Linked DNA regions of Homo sapiens: all the other regions are linked to region 1. Evidence: promoter capture Hi-C in 16 types of primary human blood cells and fetal thymus (Javierre and others, 2016). All regions are on one chromosome and are shown on one strand. Each heading gives the region's core, a stretch centred on a gene start or on the middle of the fragment in contact. The rest is flanking DNA. Distances are from core to core; before and after follow the strand shown. Region 1 holds the start of COX11 (cytochrome c oxidase copper chaperone COX11). Region 2 overlaps SMIM36 (small integral membrane protein 36). Region 3 has its middle 6.7 kb from the start of PCTP. Region 4 overlaps PCTP (phosphatidylcholine transfer protein). Region 5 has its middle 67 kb from the start of SMIM36. Region 6 overlaps SMIM36 (small integral membrane protein 36).

Region 1 (4,696 bases), core at 1,112-3,611:
CATTCAAAATATAAGTAAAAAACCAAAATATTTAGTTGTCATTCAGAAGTATTTCATAAACATGAACTGTCATTTCACATTATCATACTAAGATCAGATACAATGCATATTTTCTTTTATTAAAGTAGAAAGCTACAAAGACCAACACCACTTCATTGCTATCAATATCACTGTACATAAGAGTTTCATTTTGCAATTATTATACAAAAAATGAAATACTGGAGTCCAAGACAAAGACTGTATACTGACATATATTTATACTGCTACCTGGAGCTACAAAGAAGGGGTGCCTGGAGAAACAGAATGGTGAGTGGAAATGTACTGTTGGTATCAAGGATTTCAGTCTATGCTGTAAGAAAATTAAACTTTGAGAAATCTCATCCTAGAAGAGCTGAGAATCTGGTACAAGAACCAAGGTGCATGCAGATGAAAAAGATTTTCAAACACTGTCATCACACAATATGAATAAATTTGTAGAATCATGGAGACCTGAAATTTTTGAGACAGTATGCCAGAGTATAGAAAGAAGTCAGAAGGTATTTATATTTTATTGGTTCTGCAATTTTCTGGCCCTGTGACCACAAGTTAATCAATTACTCACTCAAGGTGACCATCATCACTCATGTGGACTACTGCAATTGCTTCCTAATTGTTCTACTTCCATTCCTCCCCCTACCTTTAATCCATTCTCCACAAAGTAATCAATATCTTTTCAAAAATGTGAGTCAGATCACATCACTTGTATGTGTCAAACATTCCAATAGCTTCCTATTACTTTTAGAATAAAATCCAAACCCTTGGACATGGCTTAAAAGGCTGGTATTACCAGGCCTTTGTTACCTGTTCTGACCCCATTTCCTACCACTTTCCACTCTGCTATGTTGGGAACACAGTGGCCTTCTTTCTGTTCTTCAATCATTCTATCTCTTTCCTTCCCCTGGGCCTTTGCTTGGCCTGGAATTGTTATTGAGTAGGTAGCTCCTTATCATCGTTCAGATCTAAACTCAAATGTCACCTCTTCAAAACGTCCTTACTTTACTACCGCTTCTCATGACTGTCAATCATACTATGTTATTACATTGTCTTCACTGCACTGATTGTTATCTGAAATTCCCTTATTTCGGTAACTGTTACTTGATTATTTTCTGAGTCCCTCAGCAGAAAGGACACTCCATCACTGAAGTGATCTCCCGACTTGTTCTGTGCTATAGTGCCAGCAGGTCGATTGGTGTCAGGCCCACAGTTGAGAGGGCAATAAATAAATAAAATGTCGAATGACTAGTTAAAATTTCTCAGGCCTCCAAGTTCCTCATCCACATAGTGGGGATAATTATACCTGCTCTGGCCATTAGAAATGGCCACGTAGCAAGTAGAAATACAGCCTAACTTTTAACTACATTCTTACTATGCCTCAGTCATCATGAAAGACGTTATATGAATATTATTCATTTACTGTTCTGATTTCCATTTTACAAGTAAGGACACCAGGTCTTAGAGGACAAGTAACTGACCTAAGGGCACAGGGCCATGGTGAGGACCCGGGTAAAAATCCAGAACCCCCTAACCTCAGAACCTGAGCTCTTAACTGCTATTTTATAGTTTCTAGAAAGATGCTTCCTTCTAACACAGTAAAATCCGCTATGCTGTCTGCCCCCCTCGAGTTCGTCCTGTGGGACAACTGAAGAAAGCTATTACATCCTCCCACGGGGTTCGTTTCTTTCAGTCTCTCCTTAAATGGCCCTCCTATCCTGGTCACTCTCTCCAGAACAAACTTCAGCGTGACAGCCTCCCTCCTGCTCCAGCTGTGGTGCTTTCCACTGGGCAAGTTGTAAGGGGCATCAGAGCAGGGGAAGCCGACTGCCCACGGGCTGAGAAAATGCAGGTGTCGTGGGTGCCCATGAGGGCTGCGGTTAACACAGCAAGGCTTCCTGAGAGAGGTGATACTTGAACTAAGTCCAGGGCAGTGAGCACAGGAGCCAGCGGCCAAGGGACCCCAGGAGAAAAGACCGCGGGAGAGCGTCGCCGGGGCTGCCGGGTCGAGACAAAGGCTGGTGGAGTTTAAATAAAGATCACAGGCGCAACCCCAAGTGATGGCAAGCTTGCACGCGGACGGGCGAAACGCATTTTCCTAAATGTTAAGAGACGTTCTGGCGAGAAGCGAAGTGGGAGTAACAGTCACAAAGCAAAACGCAAACTTACCCGTAATCTGGCAACCCGGCCTCCGTAGCCCGACTGCAAGCGCTGCCACCTGAGGAGCCTGGTAGCCAAGGCAGCGGCAGGCTCAACCCAGATCTCGCGAGACGGAGCACGCCTCGCGAGATTTGACCTCTCGTCCCTGAGAGGCGGGTGGGTGTTAGTTCAGAGGGTTATGGGAGGGCTCTGGCGTCCTGGATGGAGGTGCGTTCCTTTCTGTGGCTGGCGCTGGATCCACCCTGGGTCTCCAACCAGGGCTGCAGAGAGGGTAGAGCCGTTTCTTAGGCCAGAGTGGAGTGGGACAGGAGGTGCCGAGAGAGGACTGAGGTGGCTTGGGACATGGAAGCGCTGCAGCCTTCGAGCCCGGCATCCAGCATTGCAGCCGCCGCGGCGGCCTAAGAGCTCGAACCCTTTCACACGCGCGCAGGAGGAGGAGCGGCGGCGGCAGAACAAGACGACCCTCACTTACGTGGCCGCTGTCGCCGTGGGCATGCTGGGGGCGTCCTACGCTGCCGTACCCCTTTATCGGCTCTATTGCCAGGTAGGGGCCGGCGCCGCCCGCAGGGTGGCGCAGACGCGAGAGGTGGGGGTGCAAGACAAATCCCGGGACAAGCCCTCGCTCTGCGGGTCGTAGGTGGAAGAGGTTTCCGATATTATCTACCTAAGAGGAGAGAGGTTCAAAACAGTCACTTAACACCCAAAGTCACCAAAGAAATTGGTGACAAAACTGCAAGTAGCATCCAGTTCTTAGTGATTGTGCTTATACCATGCTGCAGAGTGAAACCCCTGATCTATGAACTGCACCTCGCCAAAAAAAAAAAAAAAGGTCCGCAGCCTCTAACCGGGTATCTAGCAGTCTGCCTTACCCTCCTGCGCACACACGCTTTTAAAATGTATTATTCATACATTCACTCTGCAAACCACATGTGGTTTATGTGCCAAGGGTAACTCTGGAAATTGGACTACTCGTGTTTCTTGGGCTTAAACTGGGATTAGCAGTTCCTCCGTACAAAGAGGCATGAATTAGGCCTTTGAGGCTCTCTCGCCCCACCCCTGTTAATATATAACTGTAATGTACTTAACCTGGAAACTGTTAAGTACATTGCAACGGTTCTGGGAGTGTGGCGCCCAGGACCGGCAGCATCAGCATCACCCGGGAACCTGTTAAAAGTGCAAATTCTAGGGCCCGACTCCAGGACTGAGTCAGAAACACGGGGTGGGGGGGTGGGGCGGGGAGAAGAAGGGGAGTGGGACCAGCACTCTATATTTTAGTTAAGTCCTGTAGTTGATTTTGAGGGCAAGTTTTGAGAACCACAGGCAAAGACAAGTTTCACGTATTTTAGAGATTTCTCCTTTGTTCTTAGCTAATAATTTGCAGCTTTGGCTGGCCATTAGGATCACCTATGGAGCTTAACGTTAAATACACGTTCCAGGGATCCCCTACCCCAGAGATTCTGGTTAGGAAGTCTAGGGTAGGGACAGGAATTTCGGTTTAAAAATCATGCCACAAGTGATTCAGTAAGTGTTTAAGATAGTGGCTCCCAAAATTCATTGTACAGCAACATTGGGAATCACCTGGACAGCTTCTAAAAATCCACACACATTACCCATTTTATCACAAGGCCACAGTGGGAACCAGGCATCAGTAATTGTCAAGTATGTTTTAGGTGATTCCAGCGTGCAGGAAAGTTTGGGAATTGTTTTTTTAACACCATGACTGGTATTCTTAGCTGGAGTTCACTCTTTCCGTGTGTGTGTGTGTGTGTGTGTGTGTGTGTGCGCGCGCGCGCACGTTTATTTATTTAAATTTGTAGAGACGAGGTCTCCCTATGTTGCTCAGGCTGGTCTCAACTCCTGGGCTCAAGTGACCCTCCTGCCTTGGCCTCCCAAAGTGCTGGGATTACAGGCGTGAGCCACCATGCCCGTGGAAATCAATTTACCTTTCTTTTAGATGATGAAGCAGAAGACAAAAGGACTTTTCTTTTCTGGCATAGTCTCCTAATGCCAGCATTTATGTGGGAATGTGCAATAGTTGATTTTGAGGATGAGTATAGAATGTGAATTACTTTTCATCAGAGACCAAGCCCAAGCATGAATTCTAAAACTACCAGTTGGTTAAATCATAAGCAGAACTGAATCCAAATCAGCAAATCTAGATCCTTCTCAGACCGCCAGGAGATTTTTGCCCCTCAGGGAACATTTAGCGATGTGTGAAGACATTTTTGGTTGTCACAACATGGAGGTGGGGGTATAGGGTGCTACTGGCATCTAATAGGTAGAGGCTAGGAATGCTACTAAATAACCAACAAAGCACTGCCTCACCCCCAAACAACAAAAAATTATTCAGCCCAAAATGTCCATAGTTCTAAGATTGAGAAACCCTGCCCCAAACTGAAATAACTGATAATATTGCGTGTGAAATGTGCCCACATGCAATCATAGATCAGGAAGCCAAATGTAATTTGTAATCTATCAGGTTCTTAGAGCTAGTAGCACAACTAGA
Region 2 (4,255 bases), core at 363-2,862, 520 kb before region 1:
GCACTCCAGCCTGCGCAACAGAGCAAGACTCCGTCTCAAAAAAAAAAAAAGAATAAAGGAAAAAAAAAAAAGAAAGCTCTTTCTTTCTTTTCTTCATCTCAATTCACTGTTTTATGTCACATAAGAATTAATACTACTCTACTCTTGGAAATTAACATTAAGCATAAAGTAGTAGAATGGATAAGAATATATATGGATGCTAGTGATATACTGCCTAGTTCAAACTCTAGCTTTAAACTCACTTGACATATAACCTTGGGTAGCTAATTTCTCAGTGCCTCCGTTTCCTCATACGTAAGATGGGAATGATAACAGTAGATACCTGCCTTCCAGGGCTTATGGAATTAAATTAACTATAACATACAAAGTACTTAGAACTTCATTAGCAAGCACAATGTATATTAGATATTAACATTATTCTATAAACTATAAATAGGCAAATAGTTGTGTTCTTAGACCCAACAACCATAGACCATGTTGGTTTTTAAGAAATGCTTTTTTCTGCTGGACACAGTGGCTCACGCCTGTAATCCCAGCATTTTGAGAGGCCGAGGTGGGGGGAACAATTAAACCCAGGAGTTCAACTCCAGCCAGGGCAACATAGGGAGACTTCATCTGTACAGGAAAAAAAAAAAAAATCAGCAGGGTATGGTGGAACACACCTGTGGTCCCAGCTACTTAGGAGGCTGAGGTGGGACTGCTTGAGTCTGGAAGGTTGAGGCTGCAGTAAGCTATGATCGTACCACTGCACTCCAGCCTGAGCAACAGAGCAAGAAAACCTTGTCTCAAAACAAAAGAGAGAAAATGTTTCTTTTCAGATTTAGATTTTTATTTTGATTATGAATATTTTCAGATATACTAAGACATAGAGAAAATGGTAGACAGTCTCCATAAAATTATCACCAGTAATTATCAAGATTTTGCCATATTAGCCTAATCTATCCTTTAATAAAATATTTTAAAGAAAATCATATATATCATGTCATTTTACCCCTCTGTATTTCATTATGCATCTCTAAAAAATATGGATAGTTTCTCACATTACCTCAATTTTCTTACAGTATCTGTGACATAAGGATTTCTTGGTATCAGCTAAACCCAGTCAATGGCAGCATATTTCCCTAATAGTTGAAATCAGAATCCAAACCTGGTCCATCATCACATTTGGTCCTAATATTTCTTAACTCTCCTTTAATCTAGAACAAGCTTTCTTGCCTTTGCCTCATGCCATTGACTTCTTGCAGAAGCCAGGTCAGTCATCTTTTAGAATGTACCACATGCTTACAGTGACCACGCCTCAAGTTTTGCATGAGACAGCCCCAGTTTATACCTTTTGTCCCAGTACAATTATGAGTAACACTCCTCTACTCTTAGTTGCCTACCCATTGGGAGTTTGTCTTTTTGTTTTACTGTCTGCTTTAATTTGTTCTATCTGCCATATTTCCTATACATTGACATTAGCGAAAGGCCTGATGCAGCCTCATCTTTTTTGATAAGAATTCTTCCCAGATGGTTCTGTTTGCTGCAAATATCCTTGTACTGGGAGGTTTATAATGTGTGATTGTCCCACTTTTAGTGGTACTCAAATTGATGAGTGAATTCTGGGAATATAAGCATGATCAAGCCATTGTAAAGTTCTTCGTCTACCTTTCATCTCACGGTTTCATTCCTTGTTGATAATTGCTTGAATCAATTATTACATTCGATGTTAGAAAACAGCTCTAGCTCTATCAGTCCTTCCATATTTATTGGCTAGAATTTTTTTGTAAAGAACTTTCCCTTCTCAGTTAGGGCTTGGTTATCCTGCAGTGCAATGTATACAGAATCAGTGCTTAACTCTTTCCTTTTAATGGTCAATTTTCAGAACGGGAAGTTGAAACCTTAGTTACTTCAAGTAGTGTCCAATTTATTAATTTTTTTGAGTTTTTTTTGTTGTTTGTTTTTTGCTATGGTGATTTTTTTCTGTTTAAAAAATTTTGTATCATTATAAATTCATGGGTTCTTATATGCTAAGCTTAAATACATTTATAAAATAAATTATCCTCATAAATTAGGAGCAGTCTATATTAGTCAGGGTTCCCTGGAGAAACAAAGCTAATAGAATGTGTAGAGAGAGAGAGAAAGAAAAAGAGAGAGATTTATTTTAAGAAATTAGTTGACACAGGCCAAGCACGGTGGCTCATGCCTGTAATTCCAGCACTTTGGGAGGCCAAGGCAGGCAGATCACTTGAGGTTAGGAGTTTAAGACCAACCAGCCTGGCCAATGTGGTGAAACCCATCTCTACTCAAAATACAAAAATTAGCGGGTACACACACATCATCCCAGCTATTCAGGAGGCTGAGGCTTGAGAATCACTGGAATCCAGAGGCAGAGGTTGCAGTGAGCCAAGATTGTGCCACTGTACAGAGCAAGACTCCATCTCAAAAAAAGAAATTAGTTCACACAGTTTTGGGGGCTGGCATTTCTGAAATATGTAGGGCAGGCAGGCAGACTAGAAACCCAGAGGAGAGTTACTGTTGCAGCTCAAGTCCGAAGGCAGTCTGGACCTCAGTCCTCGTCTCTTAAGCTTTTCGACTGACTAGAGGAGGCCCACCCACATGATGGAGGGTCATCTGCTTTACTGTTCTACTGATTTAAATGTTAATCTCTTTTCAAAAGTACCTTCCTAGCAACATCTAGACTGGTGTTTGACCAAATATCTGGGTACTGTGGCCTAGCTAAGTTGATGCATAAAATAAACTATTACACTGTCTCCATATTTTAAAATAACAATAGCATCTCAGGGTAGAAAATGCAAAAAGTGGTAGAATCAATGCTTACTGTGAGTGTTCATATGTGGGAGAGAGCACTCAGGCCAAACCCAACAAGAAACATTTGAATTTGTAATTTCTGAATGTTCTGCTGGTTTTCACGCTAGACAGAGCTGACAAAAAATCCCCCTGGTTCTGCTGCTTCCTATGTAAACTTGAGGAACTCACATTAGTTCAATGAGCCTCAGAATCTTCATCTAAAAAGCAAGGATAATAGCATCCATTTGGCCTGCCATTTGACAGCCAAGAGTTTGTGCACATTTTGAAATCTCTGTATGTTACACAAATATGTTATTAGACTACTTTTGTTAAGACCCAATGAACCAGAGTGTCAAACAAATGTACCTTGAAGCTATAGTCGTAAGTGTAATGCTGCATTACAATGTTCAATGACTTTATTTGACAGATGCCTTTACTCTCAGGTCTCACATTTTAAGAAAAGGGAAAGTTGTTATTCTTCTAAGGGAAAAAGAGTAAGAGCACTAATTTTCCATATGAATGCCTCTATCAGTAAGTACATGTTTTCCCTGTAGTCTCTAATTCTCTATGTCAGCAATGTAACAATGACAAATGCAAAGGATAAAGGTAGTTATCAATGTAATAATGACAAATATGCAGGCTGTCTCTTTGTTATCCATTCAACAAACACTTATAAAACGCCCACTAAATGTGAAAGACTATGCCAGGTGCTATTGAAGACACAGAAATGAATCAATCCAGATTCTGTCCTCAAGCAAACTATAGGCTATTAAGAGGAAGAAACCATAATTAAAAAGGAAAAATCTATAAGATTTGAATTGAAAAGTACAATGAGAGTGCTTGGTAACAGCCTGTGGAAGCCTGGAGAAGGAGAGATGAGTTTCAGTTGCAGGTTCCAGACAACTTCTTGGACAAGGTGGCACTGAAGCTAGGCTAAAGAATAGGAATAGATTTGGACTCATGAGATAGGCAGGGTAGGGCAGATGAAAGGTGGGGAGGATGTTGTGGATGCGGTGGGAGTATAAGATAATTGAAGGGCCTAAGAAGTAGGAAAAAAGTATGGACACATGCTATGTGTGGCAACCAACGAGTTCTTTCCTTTACCTCTAACTTCTTTCTCTGCAATTTTAGAAAGGGTCTTAGGATTCGTCTAATACTAGGATGGCAAAAAGTCTTCATCTGTCTAGCTCACCAACTTCAATTGATGGGTAACAGAAGGTCACACCTGGTTGGTCAGCTCAATGGAGAGGGTTATTGTCCTATACCACTTCATAAATTAAAGTTTTATTAAAATCATGATGCTTGGCTGGACACGGTGACACATGCCTGTAATCCCAGCACTTTGGGAGGTCGATGCAGGAGAATCGCTTGAGTCTACAGGTTTGAAACAAGCCTGGGCAACATAGTGGAACCTCATTTCTACAAAAAAAATAAACAAAATTAGCTGGGCATAGTGGCATAAGCC
Region 3 (4,181 bases), core at 1,103-3,602, 780 kb before region 1:
AAAATTCCTCAGAATAACTACTAAAACAATTCAATATGAAAGAAACTATTCTAAAAGTCAAGGGAAATAACAATTATGTGTCATGCATAAATCTTGAGTCGTGGATTAGGAAAAAGCCATTAAAAGGCATTTCTGGGATAATTGGGGGTATTTGTTTATGCACCACTTTTAGAAAATATTATAAAACTATTGTTAACTTTGTAGGTGTAAAAAATGTTATTGTGGTTGAGTGGAATAATATTCTTATTCTTGAGAAATGAATGCTGAATTATTTAGGGGTGAAGCAGCATGATACTTGCATCTTATGTTCAGATGGTTCCATTAAAAAAAGTGTGATTGATATATAGATAGAGAAGCAAAAGTGACAAAATAAATAATTGATAAATTTAGATGAAAGGTAGCCAGGATTTTATTTTCTATTTCTTCAACTTTTCTGCATATTTGAAATTATTCAAAATAAAAATTTAGGAAAAACCCAGATATATGTATTTATAAGAGACAATAACTAAAACATAATTACACAGAAATGTGAAGTTAAAGGTATGGAAAATATATACAAGTAAATCTGAAACAAAAGAAAGCTTGTGTGACTCCTAAAATATCAGACTAAATGGACTTTAAAAGAAAAAAGTTAATAGAAGTTTCTGAGTTAATGGTAAAAGGATAACTCTTCAGGTACTCGGAATGCTTAAATTTGTATGTATTCATTTTACAACTTAATCTCAAATATGTAAGGCAAAAATTATCATCAGTATAAGGAGAAATCAGCAAATTCATCATTACAGTGGAACATTTTAAGGCTCTTTTTTAGGAAATTGACCAAGCAGACAGAAAAACTGGTAGATAGGGAAGATTTAAGCATAAAACTCATACGCTTGATCTAAAGGTCATATATAGAACCTCATACTCAATAAGTAGAACACACCAACATTTGCAAATCCTCATAAAACATTCATTAAAATTGGCAATCTTGTAAGCCACAAAGGATGTTTTCAACAAATACAGAAGAATCAATACTGTTCTCCAATGACAATGCAAAAAAAGAAAAAAGAAAAAGAAGAAGGAGCAAATGAACAAAAATAGCCAGTTTCTGCCCCCTATACATCTGGAAACAACAAAAAAAAAACAAATACATACTTATTCCAGGAGCTAGCCCACAACTAATTCCTTGTATTAAATTCATTTCTGCTTAGATACCTAGAGAGTGTTTGTTTTCTGCACTGACCTCTCACTGATACTATACATATGGCTTAAGATATTTAATATTTTAAACACCATTTCTATCTATACAAACTATAAATCCAATGGTATTTAAATAGATTTCCATAAAGGGTGTTCAAGGAACTTGACACACCAATTCTAAAATTCATAAGGAAGTGTTAAAGGTCATGCAATTTGAAAACATAGGAAAGCAATTTTTTAAAGTAGGAGGGAAAAAATAAAAATATTCCCTGTAAGATATTAGGATTTATCATAAAGAAAATAATATCATATTGACCTAGGGCTAGGGAAAAAGTGATTTAAAAAAAACTCATGTAACAGCTTTCTATCCATCATCAAGTCCATGTACATTTCGAAACACAGTACATAAGCACGGATGGACAATTTTAAAACTGCTGTTGGAACAACTGGCTATTGTTATTTTTAAAATTATATTCCTGTATCATATCATACAATAATGGAAATTGCAGACATGTAAAGAACCAACTGCATAAGGCAAAATGTGGAAACTTTTAAATTATAATATAGGAGTAAATCTTTATGACCTAAAAGTTAAAAAAAAATTCTTAAAGACACAATACAGAACAAACCATAAAAGATTAATTATTGCCTACTTTAAAAAGCAAGAGTTCCTGTTCAGTCATACACTATAAACAAATTAAAATCCATCACATAGATTGGTAGAAGACATTTGTTACTCACATAGCCAACAAAGGATCAATATTGAAAATATACAACAAAATTTCAGAAATCAATAAGAAAGCCCAAATAATGCAACTGAGAATATGAACAGTGGAAAATCCCAAACAGCATATATACAAGGAAAAGCTGTTCTACTTACATAGTAATTGGAAAAATGCAAAATCAGTTGTACCATTTCATTTACAGAAAATTGGCAAAAACTTTAAAATCTGACTTTAGGTGTTGGTGAATTTTCAGGGAAATGGAAGTTCCAACATAAAACATTCTGGTTAAAGTGCAAATAGTAGTTTTAAAAACAACTCAACAAGACCTATTAAATGTGAGAATACACACAGTCTGACCCAGCAGTTCCACTTTTGAGTATACCTGAGAGAACTGATAATACTGCATAAGGATGCACATTATTTTAGTGGAAAGAACTTGGAAACAACATAAATATCCACCAACCACAGAGTAAATAAATAAATAAATATGTTCATCTGATAGTTTTTTAAATAAACAATATATATACTTGCATATCATGAATAAATCTTGAAAACTGTTAAATGAAAAAGGCAAGTCACAGAAGGATGTACAGGGCAAGAAACTTCATAGTGTTTATAAACTATACATATGCCCTGAAGTGTTTAAAATGTAAATAGGAGGGATTCAGATTAACTTCAGTGGTAGCTGTAATATTTTATTTTTTAAATAAAGTATAAAGTAAATAAGGCATGATATTAATGTATATGCTGGGTGGTGGGTTCATGAATGTTCTATTACTATCTGCCCCTTTTGGTGTTTTTGAATTACACATAATTTAAATTTAAAAATTCTAATAAAGGTATAATTGTAATGAAAAAATAGCAGAAAAAAAACACCATTTTGGAATGCTATTAAAAATAAATGAATGAATGTTCACAGATGTCTAACTGCATAGAGAACACACATGCATTACCTGTTGATCAACTTTTTTCAAGAAATTGAGATACTAAAAGTATACAGTATACATCCCCTTATCCTCAGGGGATGTGTTTCTAGACCCCCAGGGGGTACCTGAAACCACGGATAGTATTGAACCCTGCAAACACTATGATTTTTCTTTACTGAACCCTACATACACTATGATTTTCCCTGCCTATACATACCTGTGATAAAATTTAGTTCATAAATTATGCACAGTAAGATATTAACAACAATAACTATTCATTACATAGGATAATTAAGTAAAATAAGGGCTACTTGAAGAAAGGCACTGAATTATCAAGACAATCTGATAACTGAGCTGGCTGCCTTCCAGCAGGTGAGTCACTCAACGTAGACAGAGTGGATACACTGGACAAAGGAATAATTCATGTCCCAGGTGGAAGGGGTTGAGATGGTGCAACATTTCACCACGCTGTTCAGAATGGCACACAATTTAAAACTTATGAATTCTTTTATTTCTGGAATTTTCCCTTTGAATATTTTCAGACCTCAGTTGACAAGTAACCGAAACCTGAAAAAATGAAACCATGGCTAAGGAGAGGCTACTGTATCTGTTCTTATTTACTAGTAAAAGCTATTATGCACCGAGCAATTGAGAAGTGAATGAAATACGTGGTATCATAGAGAAAACATCTGGGTAAGACCAGAACTTCTCACTTCCCCTAAAGATATTTTTCACATTGTAGAATTAATTTTGTATGTGGATTCCCAAGACAAGAGTCAAGGACAAGTTCTAGTCACTTTAAGAACCAGACAAGTCACTTTAATTTTTTAAACCTGTTTACTTAACAGTGATGTAAAAATAATAATGCCGATCTCAAGGATTTGCTGACATGATTAAACAGATAATATGAGCAAAAGCACTCCGAAAAGTGAAAGTGAACACTTGATAGGCATTTCTAAATTCTGCAGCAGAGTCGATTTTAATGTTTCAATTGCCATCCAAATCAGTTTAGTTCTAGTCTATTCAACTTTTACTATTGCATGTCTACTCCTATTAAAGTACAGTAGCACGCCTGTAATCCCAGCTACTCGGGAGGCCGAGGCAGGAGAATCACTGGAACCTAGGAGGCAGAGGTTACAGTGAGCCAAGATCGCGCCACTGCACTCCCACCTGCGGGACAAAGTGAGAATACATCTCACACACACACACACACACACAAAAGCACTAGAGTTTTATCATGGTAGGGCAATGAAGAAGCAAAAAAAAAAAAATGTCATTTTATAAGCTTTAGAGACCACTGTTCCTGGCCTCTAAAGCTTATAAAATAACTTGCAACAGTCAGTTAATA
Region 4 (4,783 bases), core at 635-3,134, 790 kb before region 1:
TAAGACTTGATGTGGTAAACACTCCTTCTCCTTATTAAGAGAACCCCGTGGCAATGTAAACAGCCAATAACTTCCCTGGTCTCCTCTGCAGGGAGAGGTAGCCGTGTGACTTATCCCTGTTTTAAATGTGGACATGATGGTTGGAACTGCTGCAACTATCCTATGACCAAGAGGCAATCAACATGAGAAACAGAGTAGAAAGACTCAGAGGGTTGCTGGCATCACTGAATGCTAAATCAATGACAGCAAACTCTACCAATAGGTAGAACTCTGACCTATTTATTAGGTGAGATAAACATGCCTCTGTTTGTCATTGATTGTCCAATTTTCTATTACTTGTAGCTAAAAACAATCCTAATTGACATAGTGGTCCTTATCAACAATGCTGAATTTTATTTGAACCCTGTCATCCTAGATTACAGTGAAGGTTAAGAAATCCCCTACCTTTTGTGTTTCATAAAGTTTACTGTGAAGATCCACTACCCTTCCCCATATGACTTAGATAAGACTCACGGATGCCCCCGTTTACCTATGACAAGGCCAGACACAGACCCTCCAGATTTCCCTTTCTTTGTCTTATAAATGATTAGCTAAGCTGCCCACCCCCACTGATCAACCAGAACAAAATGCTTGTTAACCCAACTGGTTGAACTTTTCTCCTTCCTCCAGGCCCCTGAACTTTGGCCCATCCTAAACCTGAGCCAGCATACAGTCCCTCCTGAAAACAGGCTGGGCTCAGGGAAAAGTATTCTCTGATCTGCTATCCGATCATGCCATCCTTTCATCCCACATCCCCGCATATGGTTCTTTCTAACGTTCTTTGCTCCTCTTTATAAAAGAACGGCTCTGCAACTCCCAAGATGCCTGCAGAGCTTATCGGCAAAGCACTTTTCCTACTGTAATACTTCTTTCCCTAACTCCTTGAAATAATCCATTTGAATACAAGTCTCTCCTTACCAAGTCCAGATTTATTTTTAAAAATCTGACATCAAGGTAAAAAAGTAGACTGACAGAATAGTGCTGGTAAGACTTATGAATATTTACAAGAAATATAATTATACATAAATTCATTAAAACAGTACAGAAGTACATAAATGTTGCTAAAATGTACTGTCAAGGAAGAGATAATGGACACTTTAATGGATATTAAATTGAGATACAACATTTAGTTTTGCACAAATGCGTACAAGACCCTACATGCCATGTTATAAAAAGTACTGTCTCCTTTGAATAACTAACTCAGAAAAAATATATATAAATATATATAGAAATATTATTCTACATAAATATAATGTTATATATAGAATATATATTACATATATTTATATATTATATATTTTATATATAATACCAGCAGATATATATGTGTATATATAATGCCAGTAGGTATATATATTTTTATATATACCTGCTATAGTACATATAGTGAATACCAGCTGGTATTCACTATATCTTGATCCCAAGAAGAAACCAGGCAGAGGCTTCTACTTGACTGCAGACTGGATTCTGTTTCCCTTGATGATTTATTAACAATACAACAAAAGTCATGTATTTTGTATTTGAAGGAGTTTTCTAATCCCTTTGACCTGCTACAAATTCTTTCAATAATACTAGTCATTGTTTTTCTAAGCATGGTCCACTTTCCAACGTTTTATATTCATTCTCTCATGTAACAGCTAAGATAGCCCTGTGATGTAGATAGGGAAGTTGGTGTTATCTCTACCTTTACAGAAGGAAATGATGCTTAGAAAGGCCAACTTACTTGCCTAAGTCCTACAGCTAGTAACAGGACAGACAGAAAGAAATGGTGTGTCTTTGCACACTGGCCCCTTCTATTCCCTACAATGTCTCCTTATTTAGCTGTATTTTCTCTGCATGTCATTCCCAAATCATTGTTCCAGACCACAAACTAATGATAAAGATAAAGAAGACCCATCACACAGGATCTTAGAGCAGGAAGGGGTCTTAGCTTAGCTGTGTAATGTGAGTGACTTGCCAAGAGTCAGCTGATGACGCTGTTGGTGGCAAAGCCTGGATGGGAACCCTTTCCTTCCCTAAGCCAGTACTCCTGCTCCAGGCCACCCAGAACGGACCTCCCACTGAGATGCTCCCCTGAGTCCCTAAGCCTGGTGTGTTTGCCCAACAGGCCTCCAAAGGGCCAGAAGAAGTATTTTTTTTTAGATGCTGCTTCTGAAGGGTTCAGAAAGGAACCAGGAGAAAGGCAGGTATAGAGAAAGATGAATATTATCACTTTCAACAGATGAGGTACTGTGCCAAGTTTTTCCATATACTATTCCAAAGTGCTGTCTCATAAATCAGAAAAGCTAGTCAGAAAAGACAGTGTGGTGGTAATAGCATGGGCTCAGATTCACCGTCTGGGTAGAATCTAACCTCTTCCACTACTAACCTGCAAAATGGGTCTAATAAGTTTCTACTTCATGGAATGATTATGAGGATTAAACTAGATAATCCATCTAAAGTTCTATTATGTGGTGCACATAATAAGTACTTAGTAAATATTAGATATCATTCCCATTAATAAGGTAGGTTACTATTTCATTAACAAGGTAGGTACGATAATCTCCTTTTTCCAGATTAAAGAACTGGGATTCAGAACTGTAATGTACATTTTCAGGAAAACCAATATCTACAGTGAACCTGCTCTAAGCCAGGCTGGGCTTAATCATGAATACTTGCAATAATCCTGTGATGTAAGCATCATTAACTCCACTTTATAAGTGAAGAAATGGAGGCTGGAGACAGGGGAATGCATGGCCAGGAAATCTGTTACTGTTATCACTAATTTTTGAGATGCTATCGTGCTGGCTAACTTGTCGAAACATTAAACTGGTATATTTCTCAGCAATGGTGATTCAAATGCGTGAAAAAAAACATCTGTGCAATTTGTTTTCAATTATATTTACAAGGTTAAAGTATTCTGAGAAATATTATTGTCAACAGTACACTTATTTGTCCCAAACAGAATAAACTCTGAAAGAGATGCTATGCATTTACATATGAGATGTGTCAAAATGTCGTAATGTTTGCAAATGACACTTGCAATCCCCACACAGGAGTAATCTCCTGTAGATGTCCCATCACCCATCCAGGCCTGGAGAAAGGCACCACTCATTACCTCCAATTTATGGTGTTTATCTGAATTTACACCACTAACTACAAGGTGGTCTTGATAAATCACATATTCTCAAATCCTGTGAATGCACTCATGAGTGTGCATTGAGTTCTCTTTGCCTCTCACAGAAGCGCTCATTTCCATTCCTCAGAGGGACAGGAAACACCCCCAATCTATTTATCTAAAAGCTGTCCAAGTCCATCCACTTTGGGGCAAGTAATAGACTCAGATGGTATGAAAAATAAGTATTTTTCATCAAAGTAAAGCAGTTCTAATGGCAGAAGTCAAAGCTGCAGCTGCTGCTGGGAAGTATGTGCCAAGACTCTACAAAGACAGATAGTTGGCTAAATCTGATTTAATATTTAAGACCTCTCTAAGAAAATGTGATAGGTCTAATCCTTCAGGGTTGCACACAGCTAGGTAAAACAATACTCATAGCTGATGTTTACTGAGTATTAACTGAACAGCAGGCACTGATCCAAGTGCTTTTACATGGATTATCCCACTTAATCCAAATAATGATACGAGGTATGGACCATCAGTAAACCCACTTTTCAAACAGGAAAACTGAGGCTTAAAGATGTTCTGCAAAATGTCCAGAAAAGGCACATGTATAGAGACAAGAACCTCTATTCAGCATTGCCCCAGATTCACCTGCTGGTTCACTCCAGATGTTGGTATGGTATTATGTCCAAGCATTCAGAATGCCTATACCCTTCCCTACAAGTCATCTCTCTTCTCAAGGGATTCCCAAGGCTGAATGAAATATCAGTGTTTTGTTTTATTAATAGCCACCTCCTGTAATCGCCATACAGCAATCTGGTGAAAGACAGAGTGAGAGCATAAAGCTTGGCTTATACCTGGAGACAGAAGGGAGGCATCTTACTCCTTCCTCTCCCCTCCTTCCACCAAATCTGAACCTTGAGACCAGCATTCTCGCATGGCCTCATACCCACAGGCTTATCCTAAGACAGATGCGAGGAGAGGGAAAAACTGAGACTCTAACTTATCTACCCAGTTGCACACTCAAGGGAGACAGAAAAGAAGGAGCTGGCCTTGGTCTATGGTGGGAAGTAGAATGCCACAGACGGGTGTCCTGGAGACATGGTGGCTCTGCCCACAAGTAAATTTCAGCTCCATAAGTGACCAGGGCTCAAGAATGATTCTATCAATCACGCTGGTAATCAGAAGGATGACAGAAAGGAGCAGAACAGTTTTACAATCCTGAAGTAATGGGGCTCATGATGCTAATTGGCTTATTATCCCATCTGGGGAAATAGGAGTAGGGATTTCACATCTATAGAGTGAAATCTCTTCTCCTGTGAGATGGATCTGTGTTTCTCTCTAAAGGCCAAACTTTCTCTCAGCCCAGCCTGCCCAAATGCAGTTTTTCCAGTCATGCTGGTCTTTGAGAATTTTAGTAGGTCAAGAGCACAGGGAAGAACAGTCCCTGGGAAAGTACTGTCTGCTCCTCACCAAACTCTTTGATTAGAAGCCCTATTCAAGGACAAAAACACAATTTAGGCTGCCCCTTCTCACAGTGCCAGATATTTAGATTTAAAAACTTAATAAGTCAAGCCATCAGCCAGAGCTTTTCAGTCCAACATTTATTTTCTCTAAATTGAAGCTGTGAGCCTCTGCGCACTGGTT
Region 5 (4,444 bases), core at 1,048-3,547, 610 kb before region 1:
GTGATTATTTTATGCAATCCTCTCACATTTACAGAAAATAAAGACGCAGCTAAGAAAGAATCACAGTTCTAACTTGAGTTTAGCGGCTGCATATTTGGATATGGGCTATAATTTCAGATAATTTCAGACTTGGGAATCTGTGATACAGAAATTTAGGCATGAACCTTAAACAAAGTATTCCCATGAATTATAGTTGCTCAGTGGTATTTATCTTATCAGAATTTCTCATCAGTGAGGAATAATATGCAAGATACAACAAAGAGCAATTTTGAAAAGGCACGCAATGGTGCTACTTTTTACCTTAAATTTACATAAAAATACACAGGCTGGGCACAGTGGCTCACACCTGTAATCCCAGCGCTTTGGGAGGCCGAGGCAAGTGGATCACTTGAGGTCAGGAGTTCAAGAACAGCCTGGCCAACATGGTGAAATCCTATATCTACTAAAAATATAAAAATTAGCCAGGGGTGGTGGTGTGCACCTGTAATCCCAGCTATTTGGGAGGCTGAGGCAGGAGAATCACTTGAACCTGGAGGCAGAGGTTGCAGTGAGCTGAGATCGCACCACTGCACTCCAGCCTGGGCAACAGAGCAAGACCCTGTCTCAAAAAAAAAAGGACAGATAAATGTAGATATAGATATAACTAGACTTTTCATTTGCATGGTAACATGATGATTGTAGAAGGCTATGCACAGAGAGGCTATGTCAGCCAGGAAGCTTAGGAAGAGAGGAAATACAAAAAGAGCACTGGAACATCAATAATATGTAGCACTGTAACAAACCGTCAACTGCACACACATGAGTATCAGCAAAAGCACACCCTGAGGTCTGAAAGTTCCATGTGAATTTTAAATTCTGTTTTCACTTCAATGATAATACATCACTGAACTTAATCTAAAAACATTCTGCCTGTTCTAGATGACCACTGGATAACAGAGTTTTTCCATACAATTTCAGGGCCCTTGCTTTTGTGACGCTAATTGCATTAGCACTAAGTGAAGGCCAAATGACCCCACAGAGCACTTTTTAATTGAAGGTTTACAGTTGTACAGAGAAAGGAATTGAAAACTGAAACATCACGTAGAAGAACATCACATAGATACCTTAAATGCAAAACTCCTTGTGCTGTGTCTGTCAGTAGTCTGTTAAGTTGTGAGTGGATGCTATGATATCCACTTCTCAGTATAAGTAAGAGTAATAGATTCATGTGAAGAAATGTCATTCAGTTTTTTGGGCTGTAATGCCTATAATAATTATTAAAAACAATTATAGGTTGGGTGCAGTGGCTTACGCCTATAATCCCAACACTTTGGGAGGTCAAGGCAGACCAATTGCTTGAGGTCAGGAGTTTGATACCAGCCTGGTCAACATGGCAAAGCCCCATCTCTACTAAAATTACAAAAATTAGCAGGGTAGGATGGCACATGCCTGTAAACCCAGCTACGTTAAGAGGCTGAGGCATGAGAATCGCTTGAACCCAGGAGGCAGAGGTTACGGTGAGCCAAGATGGCGCCACTGCGCTCCAGCCTGGGTGATAGAGTGAGACTCTGTCTCAAACAAACAAACAAGAAATTATAAATATATATTTATATATTTAGCCCAGTTAGAATTTCTCCTGGTTTTATATATATACACATATATACACACACACACATATATATGTATATATATAAATTATATATATAAAATAAACCAGGAACACACACACATATATATAATTATATATATATAATCGCATATACATATAATCTTGTTATTTCAACAGCTTTTGGGGTACAAGTGGTTTTTGGTCATATGGATGAATTGTATAGTGGTGAAGTCAGATTTTAGTGCACTGGTCACCAAGGAGTGTACATTGTACCCAATATGTGATTTTTCATCCCTCACCCCTGCTCACTCGCCCCACTTCTGAGTATCCAGTGTCCATTATACCTCTCTGTATGCTTTTGTGTACCCATAGCTTAGCTCCCACTTAGAAGTCAGAATATATATTTGGTTTTCCATTTCTGAGTTACTTCACTTAGAATGATAGCCTCTAACTCCATCCAAGTTGCTGCAAAAGACATCATTTTGTTTATTTTTTATGGCTGAGTAGTATTCCATGGTGTATATATAACACATTTTCATTATCCACTTATCAATTGATGGTCCATTATCTTTGCAATTGTGAATTGTGCTGCCATAAACATATACATGCAGGTGTCTTTTCAATATCACTACTTCTTTTCCTTTGGGTAGATACCCAGTAGTAGGACTGCTGGATTGAATGGTAGATTTACTTTTAGTTCTTTGAGAAATAGCCATAATGCTTTTCATAGAGGGCTGTGCTAATGATGGCGCCTGCAGCCCATCTGGGGCAGCCGCTGCCATTACGCTGGCTGCAACAGCGAAGCTCAGCCAGGGCTGCACACTCCGTGGAGCTGGCAACAAGTGGGAATCACAACACTTCCGAGCTGATGGGGAGGGAATTCCCCAGGTGCAGCCACAACAGCCCAAGTCATGGCTGCAGACTCGGGCCTCCCACTCCACAGAGCAGGAAGGAGCCCCACCCCCTCGGGCACAGCTGCAGCCACCAAACCCAGACTGCACAGTCGGGCATCTCTGCACTGTCGGGGCATGGGAAGGCCTCCCCTGAGAGGAGGAGAATCTCTTGAACCCGGAGGCGGAGGTTGCTGTGGGTCAAGATCGCGCCACTGCGCTCCTGCCTGGGCAACAAAGGCGAAACTCCGTCTCAAAAAAAAAAAAAAAATTTTTGAAGTAGGGACTATTATTATTCCTATTTTACAGATAATGAAACTGAAGTCTTCAAGGAGATTATATAATTTGCCTATGTTTACACAGCTACCACGTAGAAAATGTGGGATGCTACGCAGTCTAACAGCTTTCATTTTCAACCGCATGTGATACTGATTCCTGCTGTGAAAGAAAGAATGGTAATTTCTTGGAGTTACAGTTCAGGGAACTATAACAGTGGGCCCTGACACAGTATGGTGCGGGGAGAGGGTCCAAGAAGGCTTTTCCTGAGGAAATGAGGTTTCAGCAGAGAAATGAAGGGGAAAAAAGGAGTTAACTAGGCATGTGGAAGTTGGAGGAGCTTTGTATGTAGAGGAAACCGCATGCAGGGCGGGCCTGGGTTGGAAAGCAGCATTATGCTCTTGAAGAAGTGAAAGTTCATTCCACGGGCTGTTGTTCACTTCATGGTGGCGAGGCTGGAAGTGATGATGACTGTGTGTGCCATGGGGAGAGAAATGAACTGATGTGGGTCAGTGCATTTCTGCTCTGACTACCCGGGGGCCCATCACTACAGCAGTGGCCTTATTTTTCCTATTAAGTCTCTTTCAGTTTGAGTTCAAGATCACTAGCATATTATCCTTTTCTCAGCCCTGTGTCTGCCTTCTCATTAGTATTTGGATGAAGATGAAACTCCTTAAAATCCCTCCGAGTGCTGCGTGGGCTGGAGGCTTCTGCTCTCCGCTGTCCTTTTCACCCTGCTCCCTCCTACTCTCTGTGCTCCCAGCTTCTCACTACGCTGAATATTTTTTTTCAGTCCTTTATGCTCCTTTTGTCTCCTTTTGTCTGAGTGATTGTCCTTTCCCTCTTTGCTTGTTCATGTATTCAAAAATTATTTTCTAGCACCTGCTATGTGTTAGGCACTGTTGTAGGCACTGGAGTTACAACTAAAATTCAAGACATGTATGGAGGGGTTGGGTTGGGAAGGGCAGACAGAGAAAAAAGAGGAAGTAAACAAGAAGAAATAGCAGCTCATGATGACATCATGCAGAGAATTAAAGTCAAAAGATCTGATGGAGAGAAACTAGGTGTAGGTTGGATTGGGTGGTTAGGGAAGACCTTTCTAAAGATGTAATATTTAAGCTTGAGATCTGGATAACGAAAGGAGACAGACAGACAAAAGTAACAAGGAAAAATATGTCAGAAAGAGAGAACTACAAGCTCAAAGGCCATTAGCTGGGAATAAGCATGGAATGTTTGAAGAACTGAAAGAAGGATTGTGTGACCAGAGTGGAGTTAGGGGTGGGGCTCGGGGTGGGAGTGGAAATAGTAACAGTTGAGTCAAAAGTTATGAATGTCGGGTGTCGTAGGGCTGTGTGAGTCAGTGGGAGGAGTTTAGATTTTATTCCAGTTACCACTGGAGGGATTTTAGAAGAGCGACAGGATAGGATTTACCTTTTAGCTGAGATTTACCTTTTGGCTGCTAAGTGGAGAATGAAGTCTTGGTGGAAACACTGAAATAGTTCACGAGAGAGGGGATGTTGATGTCTTGGCCCTGGGTAGTGGTGTGAAAGTGGTGGATTTTGCATACTATAAGGGAGGAGCAGGCAGTGTTAACTGACAAACTGCTTTGGGGTAGGGGGAGTGAGGGAAAGAGGAAAATCGGAAAGAATTCCTAAACCTTTGTTTTGATCAATTGGAGGGACGGTGGTGC
Region 6 (4,705 bases), core at 52-2,551, 540 kb before region 1:
AAGGATGCAATATTGTGTGTGTGTGTGTGTGCACGTGCACGTGCGTGTGTGTGATAAGGAATGAGACTAACTCCAGTCTAGTCTATTCTTTGCAAATTCTTTCTTTCCAAGGCAACCAGTTTTTTGTTGTTATTTTTCTTTTCTTTAAGAGACAGAGTCTTGCTCTGTTGCCCATGCTTAAGTGCAGCAGCGTGATCATAGCTCACTGCAGCCTTGAACTGGGCTCAAGCAACCTTCCCACTTCAGCCTCCCATGTAGCTAGGACTCTAAGGTCATGACACCACGCCTGTCTTTTTTTTGTAGAGATGGGGTTTCACTATGTTGCCCAGGCTGGTATTGAACTCCTGGCCTCAAGCAATCCTCCTGCCTCAGTCTCACAAAATGCTGGGATTATAGATGTGAGCTGCTGCACCCAGTCAAGGCAACCCCATTGAACTTGTTCAGACTTCAGAACATTATTATTTCTGTACCTACCAGCTCTTCACGTTCTATTCCCAACTCCAAGACAGAATAAGGAATGCATACAACTAAAACAACAAAGCTTGGAGCCTGGGTTCAAATCCTGCCTCTTCTACTTGCTAGCTGTGTGGCCATGGTTAAGTTGAGCCACCTCTGTGTCTCAGGGATAGTGATTGGACCACTAAGCTTTTGGGGCTATTTAAATGAGTTAATTCACCAAAAGCACTTGAGACAGTTCTTGACACACAGGGTTAGCTATGATGATGATCACTGATAATATTTCCTTCCATATGCCTCATAAAAAATTTAATCTCCAATCCTCAAATCCGGCCTGATCCAATACAAAGTTATTGAAAACTCATTGAAAGAATTCTGAGACCCCACAGCTTGGTGTATCTGTCCCCAGAACACTGCCTGCTCTCCCTTCACTCTCTTTGTTGATGTTGAATGGTATGTTTTTTCCCCTGTTCATTAGTCTATTTCCAAAATTTTTGAATTATTATCTCCATTGTGTGTATTTTTATTAACCCTCCCTTCCCTGAGCTCAGAGAAACGTATGTATTTACTTTGAGATTTACTGAACCTCTTCTTTCCATCAGGACCTGTGTGGAAATAAAGAGAAATGAGTGTCATGACCCTGCCATATGATCTTTGCCGCCCAACAGAAGGAAGCAGGGTCAGGCATGACTTAGACAATGAAAGATAAGAAAGCTTTGCAGATGCTCTTTTAGAAGTCTGCATAGGATGCAGGAGTCAACAGAGACACGAGTGTCTGGCACACAGAAGACACTCAAGAAATATTCGAATAATGTTGAATGGCCAATTTCATCTTAGACTCAGGTACCAAAGATAAGATGATTTGTCTTAAAAGATAAGTAGTTATTTTTCCAGAAGAACCAAAGTATGTTGGAATCTTGAAGGGTAGGACAGGAGATGGCCTTTTAGAAGAAGAAATAACAAAAACAAAGCTTGAAAGCAAAATAATTAGAGTCCATTGGTTGTGAAGGTCTGATGGTGTCCAACATGTGAAGAAAACGTGAGAAATTCAATTTTGGTTTCTCCTGTAGAAAACTGAAGAGGAGGGCCTGGCCAGCCTGCCCTGCCAGCTTTGACAATGAGCACTGTTTTGCCTTTGGATTGTTAAGTAGCTGTAACAAACGTGAAGATAATCCCAGTTACTTTGTTTTCAGGTTTTGATGTTTATTTTTAATTTAATTTGTTTCTTATTTTATCAGAAGATTATATTTTCTCTTAAGTATGTGATTTAAAAACTATATTGAAAACCCTTCAGAGGAAATTTGTTTTCTTTATGAGCAAGAAGCCATCTTCACTTTTTTTTTTTTTTTTTTTTTTGTTCTGAGACAGAGCCTTGCCCTTATCACCCAGGCTGAAGTGCAATGGCACGATCTCGGCTCACTGCAACCTCCGCCTCCCGGGTTCAAGCAATGCTCCTGCCTCAGCCTCCCAAATAGCTGGGCTTACAGGCATCTGCCACCACACGCAGCTAATTTTTGTATTTTTAGTAGACACGGGGTTTCACCATGTTAGCCAGGCTGGTCTCGAACTCCCGACCTCAGGTGATCCGCCCACCTCGGCCTCCCAAAGTGCTGGGTTTACAGGCGTGAGCCACCGCGCTCAGCCACCATCTTCACTTTTATAATGAAAATATAAACTGAATGAAGAAACACCATAAATTCACAGGCAGTTTCTAAGAACCTACCCTTTATATATTATATACTTATATTCCCATGAAAGGGAAAGAAATAAGAAGGTTAGTTCAGATGAAGCTCACATTAAGAAAAGGGCAGGTTCATATATATATATATATATATATATATATATATATATATTCCTAGGAATATATATATAAAATATGTATATATTTTACGGGAATATATAGAGAGAATATATATATTGAATGTATGTATTTCTTTTTTTGTTTGTTTGTTTTCAGGACAAATACTGACACCTTTTTATTGCGTTTTGCACTCTTAGAGGTAGAAAACAAGGCACTAACTTGGTTGTGGCAGCATTAATGAGTATCCTTGTGGAAGGGGTGAGGGGGATGTTGGGCTATGAAACCAGATTTAGACAGGCAGTGTAAATACAACACTCAACTCTGCTCTTTTCATTGTGTGTTTGTTACAAGGCAAAGCAGTAGGTTGGGGCCACTCTAATGCACCACCAGACACTAATAGCTCATATTTACACCAGTAAACCAAATGGTTGCATTTAGGGCTAATCCAGCAGCCAGAGGGGTCCCTTAGGCTTGTGTTGGTAAAAGCACCAGTCATGCCCAACCCAGGGTTTCTCCAGTGCCTTGTAAAGGGACTGCCAGCAGAGCTCTTTAATTTTTATGTTTATCAAATGATGTTCTGTGTTTCTTCTTATGACGAAAGAGGAATCATCTTTAAATGTCAGCACGACGCCTGGCTTAAGTCCGCAGGCTGATGGACTGAACTAATGGGAGAATTGCAGTTCGGAAGAGGTAAAGTGCGCATGCGCAAAGCCAGTGGTCTTTTTACCATTCTTTTTTTTTCTTTTTTTTTTTTTATTATACTTTAAGTTTTAGGGTACATGTGCACATTGTGCAGGTTAGTTACATATGTATACATGTGCCATGCTGGTGCACTGCACCCACTAACTCGTCATCTAGCATTAGGTATATCTCCCAATGCTATCCCTCCCCCCTCCCCCCACCCCACCACAGTCCCCAGAGTGTGATATTCCCCTTCCTGTGTCCATGTGATCTCATTGTTCAATTCCCACCTATGAGTGAGAATATGCGGTGTTTGGTTTTTTGTTCTTGCGATAGTTTACTGAGAATGATGATTTCCAATTTCATCCATGTCCCTACAAAGGACATGAACTCATCATTTTTTATGGCTGCATAGTATTCCATGGTGTATATGTGCCACATTTTCTTACTCCAGTCTATCGTTGTTGGACATTTGGGTTGGTTCCAAGTCTTTGCTATTGTGAATAATGCCGCAATAAACATACGTGTGCATGTGTCTTTATAGCAGCATGATTTATAGTCATTTGGGTATATACCCAGTAATGGGATGGCTGGGTCAAATGGTATTTCTAGTTCTAGATCCCTGAGGAATCGCCACACTGACTTCCACAATGGTTGAGCTAGTTTACAGTCCCACCAACAATGTAAAAGTGTTCCTATTTCTCCACATCCTCTCCAGCACCTGTTGTTTCCTGACTTTTTAATGATTGCCATTCTAACTGGTGTGAGATGGTATCTCATTGTGGTTTTGATTTGCATTTCTCTGATGGCCAGTGATGATGAGCATTTTTTCATGTGTTTTTTGGCTGCATAAATGTCTTCTTTTGAGAAGTGTCTGTTCATGTCCTTCGCCCACTTTTTGATGGGGTTGTTTGTTTTTTTCTTGTAAATTTGTTTGAGTTCATTGTAGATTCTGGATATTAGCCCTTTGTCAGATGAGTAGGTTGCGAAAATTTTCTCCCATTTTGTAGGTTGCCTGTTCACTCTGATGGTAGTTTCTTTTGCTGTGCAGAAGCTCTTTAGTTTAATTAGATCCCATTTGTCAATTTTGTCTTTTGTTGCCATTGCTTTTGGTGTTTTGGACATGAAGTCCTTGCCCATGCCTATGTCCTGAATGGTAATGCCTAGGTTTTCTTCTAGGGTTTTTATGGTTTTAGGTCTAACGTTTAAATCTTTAATCCATCTTGAATTGATTTTTGTATAAGGTGTAAGGAAGGGATCCAGTTTCAGCTTTCTACATATGGCTAGTCAGTTTTCCCAGCACCATTTATTAAATAGGGAATCCTTTCCCCATTGCTTGTTTTTCTCAGGTTTGTCAAAGATCAGATAGTTGTAGGTATGCGGCGTTATTTCTGAGGGCTCTGTTCTGTTCCATTGATCTATATCTCTGTTTTGGTACCAGTACCATGCTGTTTTGGTTACTGTAGCCTTGTAGTAAAGTTTGAAGTCAGGTAGTGTGATGCCTCCAGCTTTGTTCTTTTGGCTTAGGATTGACTTGGCGATGCGGGCTCTTTTTTGGTTCCATATGAACTTTAAAGTAGTTTTTTCCAATTCTGTGAAGAAAGTCATTGGTAGCTTGATGGGGATGGCATTGAATCTGTAAATTACCTTGGGCAGTATGGCCATTTTCACAATATTGATTCTTCCTACCCATGAGCATGGAATGTTCTTCCATTTGTTTGTATCCTCTTTTATTTCCTTGAGCAGTGGTTTGTAGTTCTCCTTGAA

The links. The method cuts DNA at HindIII sites, captures the fragments that hold promoters and counts their contacts. A CHiCAGO score of 5 or more calls a contact.
Region 2: a contact is called between a fragment that was not itself captured here and the fragment with the promoter of COX11 in region 1, in 1 of 17 cell types (total CD8 T cells). The highest score is 6.4, in total CD8 T cells.
Region 3: a fragment that was not itself captured here is called in contact with the fragment with the promoter of COX11 in region 1 in 1 of 17 cell types (total B cells); the score reaches 6.6 in total B cells.
Region 4: a fragment that was not itself captured here is called in contact with the fragment with the promoter of COX11 in region 1 in 1 of 17 cell types (naive B cells); the score reaches 5.5 in naive B cells.
Region 5: a contact is called between a fragment that was not itself captured here and the fragment with the promoter of COX11 in region 1, in 1 of 17 cell types (total CD4 T cells). The highest score is 5.7, in total CD4 T cells.
Region 6: a contact is called between a fragment that was not itself captured here and the fragment with the promoter of COX11 in region 1, in 7 of 17 cell types (naive B cells, total B cells, fetal thymus and 4 more). The highest score is 8.9, in naive B cells.

Annotation. Positions count from the first base shown.
Region 1 is chr17:54,966,319-54,971,014 of GRCh38, reverse strand. COX11 (cytochrome c oxidase copper chaperone COX11) reads left to right here and starts at 2,361. Exons shown (of 4, transcript NM_004375.5): 1 at 2,361-2,734. The coding sequence starts at 2,369. It overlaps STXBP4 (syntaxin binding protein 4), which reads right to left and starts at 2,250. Exons shown (of 18, transcript NM_178509.6): 1 at 2,200-2,250. RefSeq lists enhancers at 1,933-1,982, 2,063-2,162, 1,393-2,341, 2,343-2,422, 2,433-2,492 and 1 more. The HindIII fragment of the contact is 10,915 bases long and covers 2,101-4,696 here.
Region 2 is chr17:55,481,836-55,486,090 of GRCh38, reverse strand. The region is part of intron 1 of SMIM36 (small integral membrane protein 36); the gene reads left to right. Among named protein-coding and RNA genes, the nearest start is that of SMIM36, 27 kb to the left of the region's middle. The HindIII fragment of the contact is 808 bases long and covers 1,209-2,016 here.
Region 3 is chr17:55,742,288-55,746,468 of GRCh38, reverse strand. No RefSeq gene overlaps it. Among named protein-coding and RNA genes, the nearest start is that of PCTP, 6.7 kb to the left of the region's middle. The HindIII fragment of the contact is 3,537 bases long and covers 584-4,120 here.
Region 4 is chr17:55,758,108-55,762,890 of GRCh38, reverse strand. The region is part of intron 1 of PCTP (phosphatidylcholine transfer protein); the gene reads right to left. Among named protein-coding and RNA genes, the nearest start is that of PCTP, 9.4 kb to the right of the region's middle. The HindIII fragment of the contact is 4,198 bases long and covers 1-3,983 here.
Region 5 is chr17:55,575,940-55,580,383 of GRCh38, reverse strand. No RefSeq gene overlaps it. Among named protein-coding and RNA genes, the nearest start is that of SMIM36, 67 kb to the right of the region's middle. RefSeq lists enhancers at 3,422-3,491, 3,171-4,370. The HindIII fragment of the contact is 3,156 bases long and covers 720-3,875 here.
Region 6 is chr17:55,506,036-55,510,740 of GRCh38, reverse strand. The region is part of intron 1 of SMIM36 (small integral membrane protein 36); the gene reads left to right. Among named protein-coding and RNA genes, the nearest start is that of SMIM36, 3.1 kb to the left of the region's middle. The HindIII fragment of the contact is 257 bases long and covers 1,173-1,429 here.